Linked DNA regions of Homo sapiens: region 2 is linked to region 1. Evidence: promoter capture Hi-C in human tissues and cell types (Jung and others, 2019). All regions are on one chromosome and are shown on one strand. The core of a region is centred on a gene start or on the middle of the fragment in contact, and the rest is flanking DNA. Distances in the headings are between cores, read along the strand shown. Region 1 holds the start of CALCR (calcitonin receptor). Region 2 has its middle 68 kb from the start of MIR653.

Evidence for each region. Contacts are between HindIII fragments. The study calls those that stand out against the background at their distance.
Region 2: a fragment that was not itself captured here is called in contact with the fragment with the promoter of CALCR in region 1 in 3 of the 25 tissues and cell types used here (H1 embryonic stem cells, lymphoblastoid cells and mesendoderm cells).

Annotation. Positions count from the first base shown.
Region 1 is chr7:93,571,763-93,577,941 of GRCh38, reverse strand. It overlaps CALCR (calcitonin receptor), which reads left to right and starts at 3,218. Exons shown (of 14, transcript NM_001742.4): 1 at 3,218-3,250; 2 at 3,436-3,653. The HindIII fragment of the contact is 4,570 bases long and covers 1-3,989 here.
Region 2 is chr7:93,411,202-93,417,943 of GRCh38, reverse strand. No RefSeq gene overlaps it. Among named protein-coding and RNA genes, the nearest start is that of MIR653, 68 kb to the left of the region's middle. The HindIII fragment of the contact is 3,795 bases long and covers 560-4,354 here.

The DNA.
Region 1 (6,179 bases), core at 1,969-4,468:
AATTTTCTAAAGAGGAAGAGGGACAGAGAGAAAGGGGCAAAGTATCATAAAGACAGGGGATTTTAAAATAAATAATCAATAAAAGTACCAGGAATGTGTGACTACCACATTTTAAGATGCTTATTTTATGAATGCCCCTTTGATGAACTAATTTCATTTGAAAGCTTATTTGCAAATATAAGGTATTCCACTTGAAGAATAGCTTATTCTAACCCAGTGTCTTTAGGTATTTTTGTGATCTACAGAAAGAAATACATTTTACTTTGCAATTTCATACACAGAGATAGAGAGAGAGAGAGAAATAAGACAAGTTTCAAGAAACCACTCTTGTGCTTTCAAATGGCGATGAACTCTGATATTTTCTATCCTATTCCACTTCATTTTTTAAATGTTACTTATGCCCACTAACTTGATTTCAAGATCCAGTAATGGGTCTCATAACATTTTCAAAACAATGCCAATTCCCCTTATCAGACCATCCCCATGTTAACATCCACCCTCCAAAAACTTACCACACTGTGTCCATGTAGGAAATACTGTGATAATATTAAGAAAGCAGTAGACTTAAATTTCTGTAAAATCCAAGTGTTTCCAACAGGTACATAACCCCTTTGGTGTTCAATAAATATCTGTTACTGACAAAGTCAATTTAATCTTCTTAGGGGACAAGAGAGCTTCATCCCTGATCTTGCTTCTGCTGTGTCACCTTCCCTGAAATATTCTGCCTACAGAGAACTCTCATTGTTTCCCCCAATATTGTATCTAACACAGTTCACACTTTAATCAGCTGAGGTTGCTTATGCTTAGACCACAAACAGTTTAAAGTTTTATGATACACCCATGCCATTTTTCTCAATAACTTTTAGACTTTGTTTACATTATGGTTAAGGGCTGCATCCCACATATATTCATTAGATTTATAGAATCAAGCCCATCCTGCTCTCAGAATACTGGTTATCAATATCAGGTAGGCTGCCCTAGGATTTAACCTCCAGCGGAAAAATCTCCTTGTACTTGTTCTATCACACAATGCCGAGGGCGGCAACACTTTCTACTCAGCAATAGTCTCCCTGAATCATTGTTATTTCAGTGACTTGGGCTACAACCTGAGAAATTCTCAATGTTTGGCCCCAGCAGTTGACCATAGGAGACTCTCAAACAACTTTAATATTTCTCTGCTGTTTGCACCAAAAGAAGGTAATTAATATTCCAAAAGAGAATTCTTAAAGGAGGTCATGGTCAAGTGTTGGCTGGTCAGGAGCAGTTGGAAAGCAGGGAGCTATTGAACTCAAGACAGATTGAGCCCAACCCAGCACGGAGTGAAGATTCCTATCTAAGTTCTGAATTCGGAAGGGTTTCTTATACAGGCTTTGTTTAAGTTACTGTGTCTGTGTGTGTGTGTGTGTGTGTGTGTGTGTGTGTGTGTGTGTGTGTGTGTGTGTGTGTGTGTATGTTCCTTTCAAAGCCTCCTTGTCTCCCAGTTGCCCAGCCTCCTTTCCTAGTCACATTTCTTACTGCTAACAACATCATTCTCACTTATCCTGGGAATGAAGGGACTGTACAATCTTCCTCTGCAGTGAGGCAGTGCCTTAGGGTTTGAATGCACAGTGAGTCACACACAGCCCTCTGGGTCACCAGACTGGAGGTGACAGGGAAGGGGGGAGTATATAGAGGAGGGAGCCTGGAAAAACAAAATCCCTGGAATGTTGGGTGGGAGAGCTGATCTGATCCTTGAGTCTGTCCTCCACTGGATCTCCTGAAAGCCTCAACCACACAAATTAGGGGTCCCTGTTGTCTCTCTGGGGTGGGGTATGAGGATTCAAAATAAAACAGGAGCATGCAAAATAAAACGGGGACATTTTTTGCCTACAGTCACTGATGTTTCCATGGAAGAGCTCCAAGGATGGTTGGGTGAGGGCTGCAGTTCCATTCACAGGACACCTCCTTCTCTGTCACCCGGTGTTGTCCCGTGTGCTTATGAGAACCTAAGATCACCAGGGAAAGTGTGCTGTCGCCGTCTGGCTTTCTTCCCCTCCCATTAAATGATTGCTATTATTTCTTTTGCCAAGGAGACAGTGTTTAGTAACCTCGACGGTGCACGGCCACCTTGTGGTCCCGGGACGCACCGGATGCTGTTTTCTTAGTCCAACACCGCCTAAACAGAGTTAGGGAAAAAAGTGTTGGCTCCTGCCTTGATCCACCCAGTTGTGGGCTAAAAGAGGTTGAGGGTGACTCGTCCTTGGAATCAACTTGCCTGCCTCCCAGGGCGTGCCTGCCAGCCTCCGCTGCGCCCCGCCTGGTATTGGATTGTCCCGGACTCCTGCTGACATCGAGGGCTTTAGGGGGAAAGAAGAGGAGTCGCAGTGTCCGGCACCAAGTCAGGCACCCCATATCCCCGTCTTCCCTCGCCATCCTCTCTGTTTTCATTCACCCTAAAACACTGTGCCCACCAGCAGTCCCCTACACGGAGGGCACTCTTTCTCCAAATCCAAGTTATGCCTCCAGCCTACAGCCGCCCAACTCCGGACGCTTTCCCAGGGCTTGCCTGACCCCCAAGGTGTCTCTTCTCATCTCCTTCCTCTCAGCACTTTTTTCCTTTTAGCACCCCAGCTCTTAGCCAGCCGTCTTCCCACGTCCTCACCCCACTTTCACTACCTAGCCCACTACCGACCCTCCCTCCACAGGCTCCCTAGTGCTGTCCCCGGAGTGGCGGCTGAAGAAGCCAGGGTCACAATGTCTCTGGGATAAGGTTCTTGTGGAAACTCACCTCCCTCCGGAATTTGCATTCTCCGGGGAGGGGACAGGGCTCCCAGAAAGCTGTCTCCCAGTCCAGACTGTCGCCCCCCTCTCCCTCCCTACTCAAGGTCTAACTCGGGTCCCTCGCCTGCTTCCTGTGTTTACGCGGCGCTTTAGTCTCCCGGACTCGCAGGGTGAGCCCCAGCCCTGACTGGAGCGAGACAGCAGCCGCGAGCGCAGCCCCACTCGCGGGCCGGGGCGACTGGGGCTGGCGCGAGGCGCACGGAGCTCACCAGCTCGCCCCTCCCTCTCCTGGGACAGGAGGGGGCTGACTGGGGTGGCGGGGTCCGGGAAGGGGGGCTGGCTCTCATCAATTCTGCTGCCACCTCCTCTGCCGCCTGTCGGGAGGCGGGCGGGGGTGGGGCGGGAGCGCAGGCTAGGATTGAGACTCTTAAGTCAGGAGAAGTTTGCGCACAGCTTCACAGCTGGGAGAGCGCAGGAAGGCGCCGGGAAGGTGAGCCTCCTGGACTCTGGGGAGGTAGAAAGCAAGCCAGGGGAAAGAACAGTTGTCTTTTAGCTGATAATACAACCTAGACTTGGGTCTGAACCACCTAAGACAGATTTAAAGTGTCAGAAAACCAGGAGAGGGGCGGAGAGGGAGGACTGAGACTAACGCAGTTTGCTCTCGCATCAAACTAGGAAAGCCAGCCCACCAGCGTCTGGGTGGGCTGCGCCGCGCGGCTGGCGGACCTTCCCGGGTTGGAGAAGTGCGCACGTCCGCACCTCACCCTGCGGCTGACATCTCCTGCCCAGGAGATGGGCGCTGAAGCTTGAGCGCCTGAGTCCCTGGAGCCACACCTGCGAACACCCTTTGCTTCTATTGAGCTGTGCCCAGCCGCCCAGTGACAGAATTCCAGGTAAGGAGCGTTTGGAAATGAGCGGGACTTAACGATTTGGGGTGTCCAAGGGATGTTTAACAGTGCAGGTGCTATAGGCACCTTGCTTTTTGATTATAGAAATGTGGTTTGATTGCGGTGCTTGTGGTTCTCATGTAGGGTCAGCTAGGTCTTAGATGCTTTACTTTACCCTTGTCAAAGAAAAAAGAAAAATAGGTGTCCTGGGAAGAGCCAACAACTTATGGTTTCGTATTGAAGAATCGTTTGATTTCTTGTGACTTTTACTATGTTGTTCATATCAATTTTCCCTCAAAAGTTTTATTCTCCAACTTATTGGGTAGGAAAATTACGGAGGTTAAAGTTGTGAATTTTCCCAAAGGGTGTTTATTAACTGACAAACATATAATATCAGCATCTATAAGATGTGTCATGGTTGTTCTGGATATTGGAAATGAGCACAGTAGTGAATGGAGTTGCTTGTTAAGTCATGTTTTACAGAGAATAGTTTTCCAACAATCATTTATGCATAGCAGCCATTCTTCACACCTATTAGGAAAAATATGTTGTGTGCATAGTTTCCAAAAGAGTACTCTTTTTCATGATGCTCTTCCCAAGCCTGGGTGAAAGACATCAAGAAAAGCTGTAACAAATTAATTCCTTTTCTCAAAACATTCATTTTCCTTGAGGTCCAAGTCAAAAATCAACAATACAATTGAGATTAGTAAACTATCATACAGACTTTATTTGGCAAATCTACCTAAGAAAAGTTTCATATGAAAGCTTTAACCTAATACTATGTGACATATGCAAGAAGAGAACGCAGGGTTTCACTTGCCGATCTTAAGGAGACCCTGACTATTTCCAGGCTGTGGTTAACCGGAATCAAGTTATCTATGTAAGGCTATTTGTTGAAATTATTCGGTGATTGAAGGTGAAATGTTCAAAATAAGTCAAAGTTTTACAATGTAGTTCTTAAAGCTAATCTTTAAATTACAGAGCGTCCGAGTTTAAGTCTGTCTTAAATGATCATAGAAAGCAAATATTTTATGTATTTGGGCCAGTTGACTTACCATTAAGGACAAAGTAGGAATGCTTTTAGTATTATGGAATTTATAAAGTGTAATTTCTAATAGGATATTGCTAGCCTATGAGTTCAGTAGTAAAATAACTCAGCTTTAAAAAGTTGAGATTGCTGGTTATACACCAGTATTATGAGAGAAACTAAGATGATTAGATTTGTAAAACCTTTACAGTTTAAGTTGGTATTCTCAGTGGATACTCATTTCTACTCAATATTTTAACATAACTCAAAACATCCATCAGCCAGGATTTGTTCTGGTTCAATGCCTCTAACCTGTAGTTTATTTTATGAACTATAGCCCAAGAATAATATCTGGTCATATTATAAAATGTTCTAAGTTTATTCATTGGCTACATCAACACAATAAGTAAACAAGAAATCTTCATTATAACCAGTTTATAAGAACACATAGATAATCTTGGAGTTGTTTTGTTTCATGATTCTCAAAGTTAAAAAGAAATAGCTGATATAAATACGTCTTCTGTTTCTCATTTTGAAACTGGAGGTAATGATTGATGGTGGATGGAGAGCATTTGCTCTAATCAGTTGAAGAAAGGGAGCTAACTATTAGTTTAGTTGTGCCATGGCAATTCTGTTCTTGATGAACCTCTCAGACTCTGTCAATGTTAACATGAATGGAAATATTATCTACTGTTGGTTTTTATTAGAGTCCTAGTGAAATGGAAATAGGAGACCGGTAATGGTTTCAATGATAATCTAAATCAGTATTCTCAACTCGGGCTGCAAATTAGGGTTAATAGGAGAACTTTCAAAAAATACGGATGCTCAGCCTTACCCCAATTCAATCAAATCAGAATATCTGTGGAAAGGGTCTGCAATTTGATGTATTTCTTTAGGTGATTGTAATATGCAACCAGGATTGAGAGCCACTGACCAAGAGGGTTTCCACCAGACTTGGTAGAACTCATTGATGTGGGAGGCTTTTGATAAAAATAAATGTTGTTTGTTATATCGCTGGTCAAATAGTTTTTTCTTTAAAAAAAAGAAACATATATGTATAAACATACATATATATGTATAACTTGATCTTACAATTAGAAGAAAAATATTTTAATATTTGATGTTAGATATTTAGACCGTAACAGCTTCTCGGAAAAACATTTTTTATCCAGAAAACAAGCTATTGAGTTTGAAATTGATCTGCCCATCCAGAAAATGTTTTAGTAAATGAACTCCAGCTTTAAGAGATGTTGAAAATAATACTTGATGAAACATACAATTTCATCTCCTTTTGCTTAAGACCTGTATACTGTGTAAAGTACAAATACGTACCCTTTTGAAAGAGGAGAAAGAGGAAAATAGCATCATTCCCCTTGGCACACTAACTACCATATACCCGGTGCCAATGATAATCTAGTACTTTTACAAAAAATATGTTTTAAGCTAAGAGTAGCCTTGTGAGTTACAAGCTATTATCATTATTTTATGTATGAGGAAATTGAGGA
Region 2 (6,742 bases), core at 1,208-3,707, 160 kb after region 1:
ACTATGGGTTTTATCTGCACTTCTTGGGCAAAGGACACAAGAAGTAGAATAGGTGTCACCAGGGGTAGAAGATTTAAGTCTATGTTAAACACACATCTGCTGTATTCAACTCATTCTATGTCTAATATATCTCACAGTTTACTAACTACTTGTTATTCATACTTCTTTTTCACTTTCCACGTTCTATAGCAGAATCGAATGTTCTAAAATAACTCATCAAACACATATCACAAAGGGACAAGTGTTTCAAATAGAAATCAGTGAAATAAGGAATGAGAGAGAGAAAGAGCAAGAGAGAAAACCAACAAAACCAAAACTAACAAAATTAACCATATTAGTTAAAACTAACCTGACACTGAGGCACCATTCTATAATTCTTAATATTCTTTAAAAAGTAAGAGTTATTTAGAAACATTTCTTGCTTCCAACATAAGATTGTTTAACAGTAATGTCAAACACTAGGTCAAAGAAAAATATCAAAAGAGCAATTTGAAAATATGTTGAGACAAAAATGAAAACACCGCATACGAAAACTTATGTGATGCTGCAAAAGCAGTAATAAAAGAGAAGTTTATAACACTAAATGCCCACAATAAAAAGAAGAAAAAATCTTTAAAAAAATCTAAATTAAGATGTAAATTGTCCCAGTTTGCAGAGGACATAATCTTATACATAGAAAACTCACTGACAAGGAAATTAGGAATATAATTTGGTTTAAAATAACATAACACCAAAAAGAAAATCTTAGAAATAACCTTAACTAAAGAGGGGAAATATTTTAACACTAAGAATGAGAAAATATTGATAAAATATATTTTAAAATACACACAAAAATGGAAAGAAATTCTGTGTTCATGAATTGGAAGATTTAATATTGTTAAAATTTCTATACTACCCAAAGTTATAGACAGATTCAATGCAATTGCTACCAAAATCTCAATGGAATTTTCTAGCAGAAATAGAAAAAGCAATTCTGAAATTCCTGTGGAACCACAAAAGACTCTGAAAAGCCAAATTAACCTTGAGAAAAAAGAACAAAGCTGGAGGCATCACACCTTCTGATTTTGAAATGTATTACAAAACTAAAATAATTAAACCAGAATAGTACTGGCATAAAGACAAGTAGATAGACAAATGAAACAGAATAGGGAGCCCAGAAATAAATCCATGCATATATGACCAATTGAATTTCAACAAGGATGTGAAGAAAACACAATGTGGAAAGGATAGCCTCTTCAACAAATGGTGTTGGGAACACTGAGTATCCACCTACAAAAGACTGAAATTGGACCCTTAGCTTACACCATAAACAAAAATCAACTCAAAATGGATTAAAGACTTAAACGTAAGAACTGATACTGTAAAACTAATAGAAGAAAATGTTGGAGAAAAGCTTCATGACATTGGTATTGACAAGGATTATAAATATGACACCAATAGCACAGCAACAAAAGAAAAAACAGACAAATGTAATTACATCAGTCTAAAAAGTTTCTGCACAGCAAAGGAAATAATCAACAGAGCAAAAGGCAACTTATGAAATGGAAGAAAATATTTGTAAACTATATATCTGAGAAGGCATAAATACCCAAAATATATAAGGAACTCCTACAACTCAATAACAAAAAAAAAAACTAATCCAGTTTAAAAATGGGCTAAAAACTTCAATAGACATTTCTCCAAAGAAGGCATACAAATGGGCAACACAGGTATATGAAAAAATGTCCATCACTAATCATCAGGTAAATGCAAATCAAAACCATAATTAGATGTCACCTCACATCTCTTAGGATGACTATTATCAAAAAAAAAAAAGATAAGTATGGGCAAAAACATGAAGAAATTGCAGTCCTTGTATACTGTTGGTGGGAATGCAAAATAGTATAGTCTCTATGACCGTATGAAGGTTTCTCAAAAAATTAAAAATAGAACTACCATATGATCCAGTAAACACACTTCTCAGTATTTATCCAAAAGAAGTGAAATTAGGGTATAATTTCAATCCTCTGCGTGTGCATATCAAGTTTTTCCATCACTATTTGTTAAAGAGACTGTTCTTTCTGCATTGTGTGTTCTTGGCATCTTTGTCAAAATTAATTGGCCATAAATGAGTGGATTTATTTCTGTGTTCTCTGGTCTGTTCCATCAGTGTATATGTCTGTTTTTAGGCTGGTACAATACTGTTTTGATTACTTTAACTTTTCAGTATATCTTGAAATTAGATAGTGTGATGTTTCTAGCTTTGTTCTTTTTGCTTAGGATCGCTTTGGTTATTTGGGGTTTTGGGGGGTTTCATACGTATTTTAGGATTTTTTTTTATTTCTATGAAAATGTGTCATTAGAATTTTGACAAGGATTGGTTTGAATCTGTAGATTGCCTTGGGAAATATGTAAATTTTAACAATATTATCTTTTCCAATTCATAGACATGGGTTATCTTTCCATTTATTTGTGTCTTCTTTAATTTTTAAATGAAATTATTTTTCATGAAATTACTTTTCATGAAATTATTTTTGAAAACTATTAAGTTTTCAGTGTACAGGTCTTTCACCTCCTTGGTTACATTCATTCCTGAATATTTTTTGTAGTTATTGTAAATTTGATCCTATCTCACACTGTATACAATAATCAACTCAAAATAGATTAAAGTTTTAAATGTGCAATCTGAAACTGTAAAACTACTAGAAGGAAGCATAGGGAAAAACCCTATGACATTGATCTGGGCAATGATTTTTCTGTTTGGATATTAACACAAAAGCAACCTGAACAGTTGGGGTTGCATCAAACTAAAAAGCTTTTGCACAGAAAAAGAAAGTCAACACACAGGAGAGACAACTTATGGAGTGGGAAAAAAAATACTTGCAAATCATATATCTGACAAGGGATTAATATCCAAAATATATGAGGAACTCAAACAATTTGATAGCAAGAAAACAAATAATCTGATTAAAAATGGGCAAATGACCCGAATAGAAATTTCTTAAAAGAGGACATACAAATGGCAAGCAGATAAAATTGCTTAACATCATGAATCATCAGAGAAATGCAAATAAAACCACAATGAGCTATGAATTTACACCTGTGAGAAGGGCTATTATCAAAAAGATGAAAGGTAAACATTGGCAAGGATGATGAAAAGGGAACCCTTGCATACTATTGGAATGTAAATTAGTACAGCTATTAGGGAAACTAGTATGGAGGTTCTTAAAGAAATTAAAAATAGAACTACCATATGACTCAGCAAAAGCATTAGTGGGTACTACCAAAGGAAATGGAGTCAGTATGTCAAAGAGATATCTGCACATCTATGTTCAGTGAAGCATTATTCACAATAGCCAAGGATGAACAGGTGAAGAAAATGTGGTATATATACACAATGGAATACTATTCAGCCTTTTTAAAAAAGGAAATTCCTGTCATTTGCAACAACATGAATGAACATGGAGGACATTAGGTTAAATGAAATAAGCCAGGCAAATACCACATGATCTCACTGATATGTGGAATCCAAAAAAGTTGATCTTAAAGAGAGTAGAATGGTAACGGTTGGGGGAGGCTGTTGGGGAGATGTTGGTTAAATGATACCAAAGTTTAGTTAGACAGGAGGAATAATTTCAAGAGATCTGTGGCACAACATGGTGACTATAGTTAATAACAATATATTGTATTTCAAGGCATAAAAATACATGTATTTCAAAACATGAAAATTGCTAAGACAGTAGATTTTAAGTGTTCTCACCACTTTAAAAAAGGATGTGAGATGTCTATATTAATTAGCTCAATTTAGCCACTCTAAAATATATGCATATTTCAAATATCATGTTGTACATGATAAATATACACAATTTGTATTTGTCAATTAAAATGAATAAAAAATTTAAAATTAAAATATGAAAATAAGGATTTCAAAGAGCTATTAGCAGTTTTATATTAATTGCAGCACTATTCACAATACCCAAAGTTGTGGAAACAACCTAAATGTCCATTAGTGGATGACTGGATGAAGAAATGTAGCATTAATTATTAATAATACAGAGGAATAATATTCAGCCTTAAAAAAGGAAGAAATTTTGCAACATTTAGCAACAGGGATGAAATTTGAAAACTTTATGCTAAGTGAAATAAGCCAGTGACAGAAGGACAAGTAGCTCATGATTGCACTTATATGAAGTATCTAAAATAATCAAACTCATGGAGTCGGAGAGTAGAATAGTGGTTACCAGAAGTTGAGGGGAAGGGGAAATGGGAGTTGCCAATCAACAGGCATAAAGTTTCAGTTATAGAAGGTAAGTAAGTTCTATAGGTCTGCTGTACAACATAGTACCTATAGTTAATAATACTGTATTGTGTACTTTAAAAATATATTAAGAGGGTAGAGATCTACCCATGTTAAGCATTCTTACTACAATAAAATAAATATTTTTAAGTGACAGGTTAACCTTGTGATTTCAATTCAAAGTTTGTACTAACTGATTTAGACTTGAACTTGTTAGTGGAAGTCTTGCTGAGTTGATATATACTGTATAAATGTTTAGGGAAATTTAGAATAACTACATTTATAAGCTAAATTGCTCCATAATAGATTTGCTTAGATGAGTCAGATAAAAGAGAAATCGAATACATTTATTTTATATGTGCAGTTTAAAATATTGAGGTTGTTTAAGGTTATAAATGAGATCAAACATTATATAAAGCCCTCTAAAATTAGTTGTTAAAATTTGGTAGACATAAGAATAGAATAATGAGATTTTTAAACTGAAGTTAAATGCACAAAGAAAAACTGGACTTTTAAATTTATAACTTTAATGAGTTGAATATTAGTTTTAAAATCAAATAAACTTCTGAATAGTATTTTCAACATGTAAACATGGTTCTCAAAGGCATATTGAACCTTGCATTCAATATTCCTGTAGGGGAAAAAGTCTGATGAAAGTTAATATTAATAGTTGAAACCTGGTAGGCTAAAAAATGCCCCTATACTTTGGAGGAACATAAAGTATATCTTGACTTTTTAAGGATTTATTTCTAGTTTCTAGTAGTTTTAGCAAATATAAAAGTTAATTTCACATTAGCATTTTTGTGGGAAAATATAACTAGTCACAAAAGGAAAAAGAAGACTTAGGCAGTTTTTCAGGTGGTGCTGAGTTTCCTATACTGAGGGGATAAGACATAATTACTCTCCCAAATGGCAACAAAGGTGAGCTAAACAGGTATATATTTTTTATTGTGTGTGAGAATTAGCATTTTTCAAGGGCCTACTGTGTGCCAGTCATTGTACATATATTATTTCATTTAATCTTTACAAGAACCTATAAGTGGTTGTACAAATATAGAAACATGAAGTCACACTGGTTGTGAGTGGTGGAGCCAAAATTCTAAGTCTGACTCCATAACCTGTGCTCTTTATATACCAGTGTTTCTCAGTGGACGCCGAGGACCACATGCAGCACAATCGCTGATGTGCTTATGAAACATACAGATTCTTAGACCCCATTCCAAGTCTCTGGAATTAGAATATCTAGGGATGGTGACAAAAACATGGATTTTTGAGAACTAGTTTGAGAAGCCATGTGACCAACATATGCCACCAAGCTCCACTCTTTCTCTGAACTTGAGTATTTGACATTTTTTATATGAAACTATTCATTGTGAGGATATGTTATTTATGAAAGCAGTGTGATCTTCCTGCTAGGAGATAATTCAGTTATTGGGAATATGGGGCTTGTTTTTTATTGGAAAATCCTCATTTCAAAAAACACATAACACCTGTTAACAAAATATCTCATCACAGGACTTTCTTTTACCATGTCAGCACTACAGACTGCTTTACCAGATTGCTCTAATATGTGGCTGCAATATCTGTTTTGCAGAAATTTCTTAAGCAAGTATGAGTTTATACATGGCATACCAAAAGCTTTTAAAGAGATATTTTGGCTTGACCATCCATCAGCAGTCCTCCTATGTGACCTTACGATTGACAGAGACCATTTCTGAGTTTGGGTCAATAAACAAGAAAACAAAGGTTAAAATGAGTTTTAATTTCTGCGTGTGATAGCAGTACCAGCTTCGTTATATCCAGTTATTCTTTCTGTCATGGGCACATGGGAAGATTTCCCAGCTTCCTTGCAAGTAATGGCACTATGTGCTTATTCTGGCCAATGGCCTGAGTGTAGAAAATGATGTGTGTCACTTCTAGTTCCAGAGAGTGTAAAAAGTGTGCTTTATTCATTGCTCTCTCTGCTGTAGCAACTATAGAAGTCACAGCAACGTAAGATGGCAGAAGAGCCTCTGACAACCTGGCTTCCCTGCAGCAGAGCCCTCACCTAGCCAGCATCAGCCATGTGGGACATGCAAGAAAATAAGAACTTTATTGTGTTAAATCCATATTTTGTAAGCTAATTTGTTACAGCAATATAACCTAGCCTACTCAGACTCATAACTGGGTTTTTTGAAGCAGCTTACACTAGAATGGAGATGTAATAAGGGGATCATGGCCTGAAAGACAGTCTCAATTATGTTTCTGACTAGTTATCCAACCTTAGTCAAGCCACCTCACCTTTCTGAACATCACTTTCTGAATCTGTAAAATGAAGATTTTTGGACTACATTCAATTCAACAAGTGTTGATGGAACATTTGATATTGTAAGATGTGGGGCAGTGTGCTGGGTGCTAGATATTGAAAGATCATAAAGATTTCTTCCAGATCTCTAATTCCACACCAAGAAACCTCAACCACCTGAC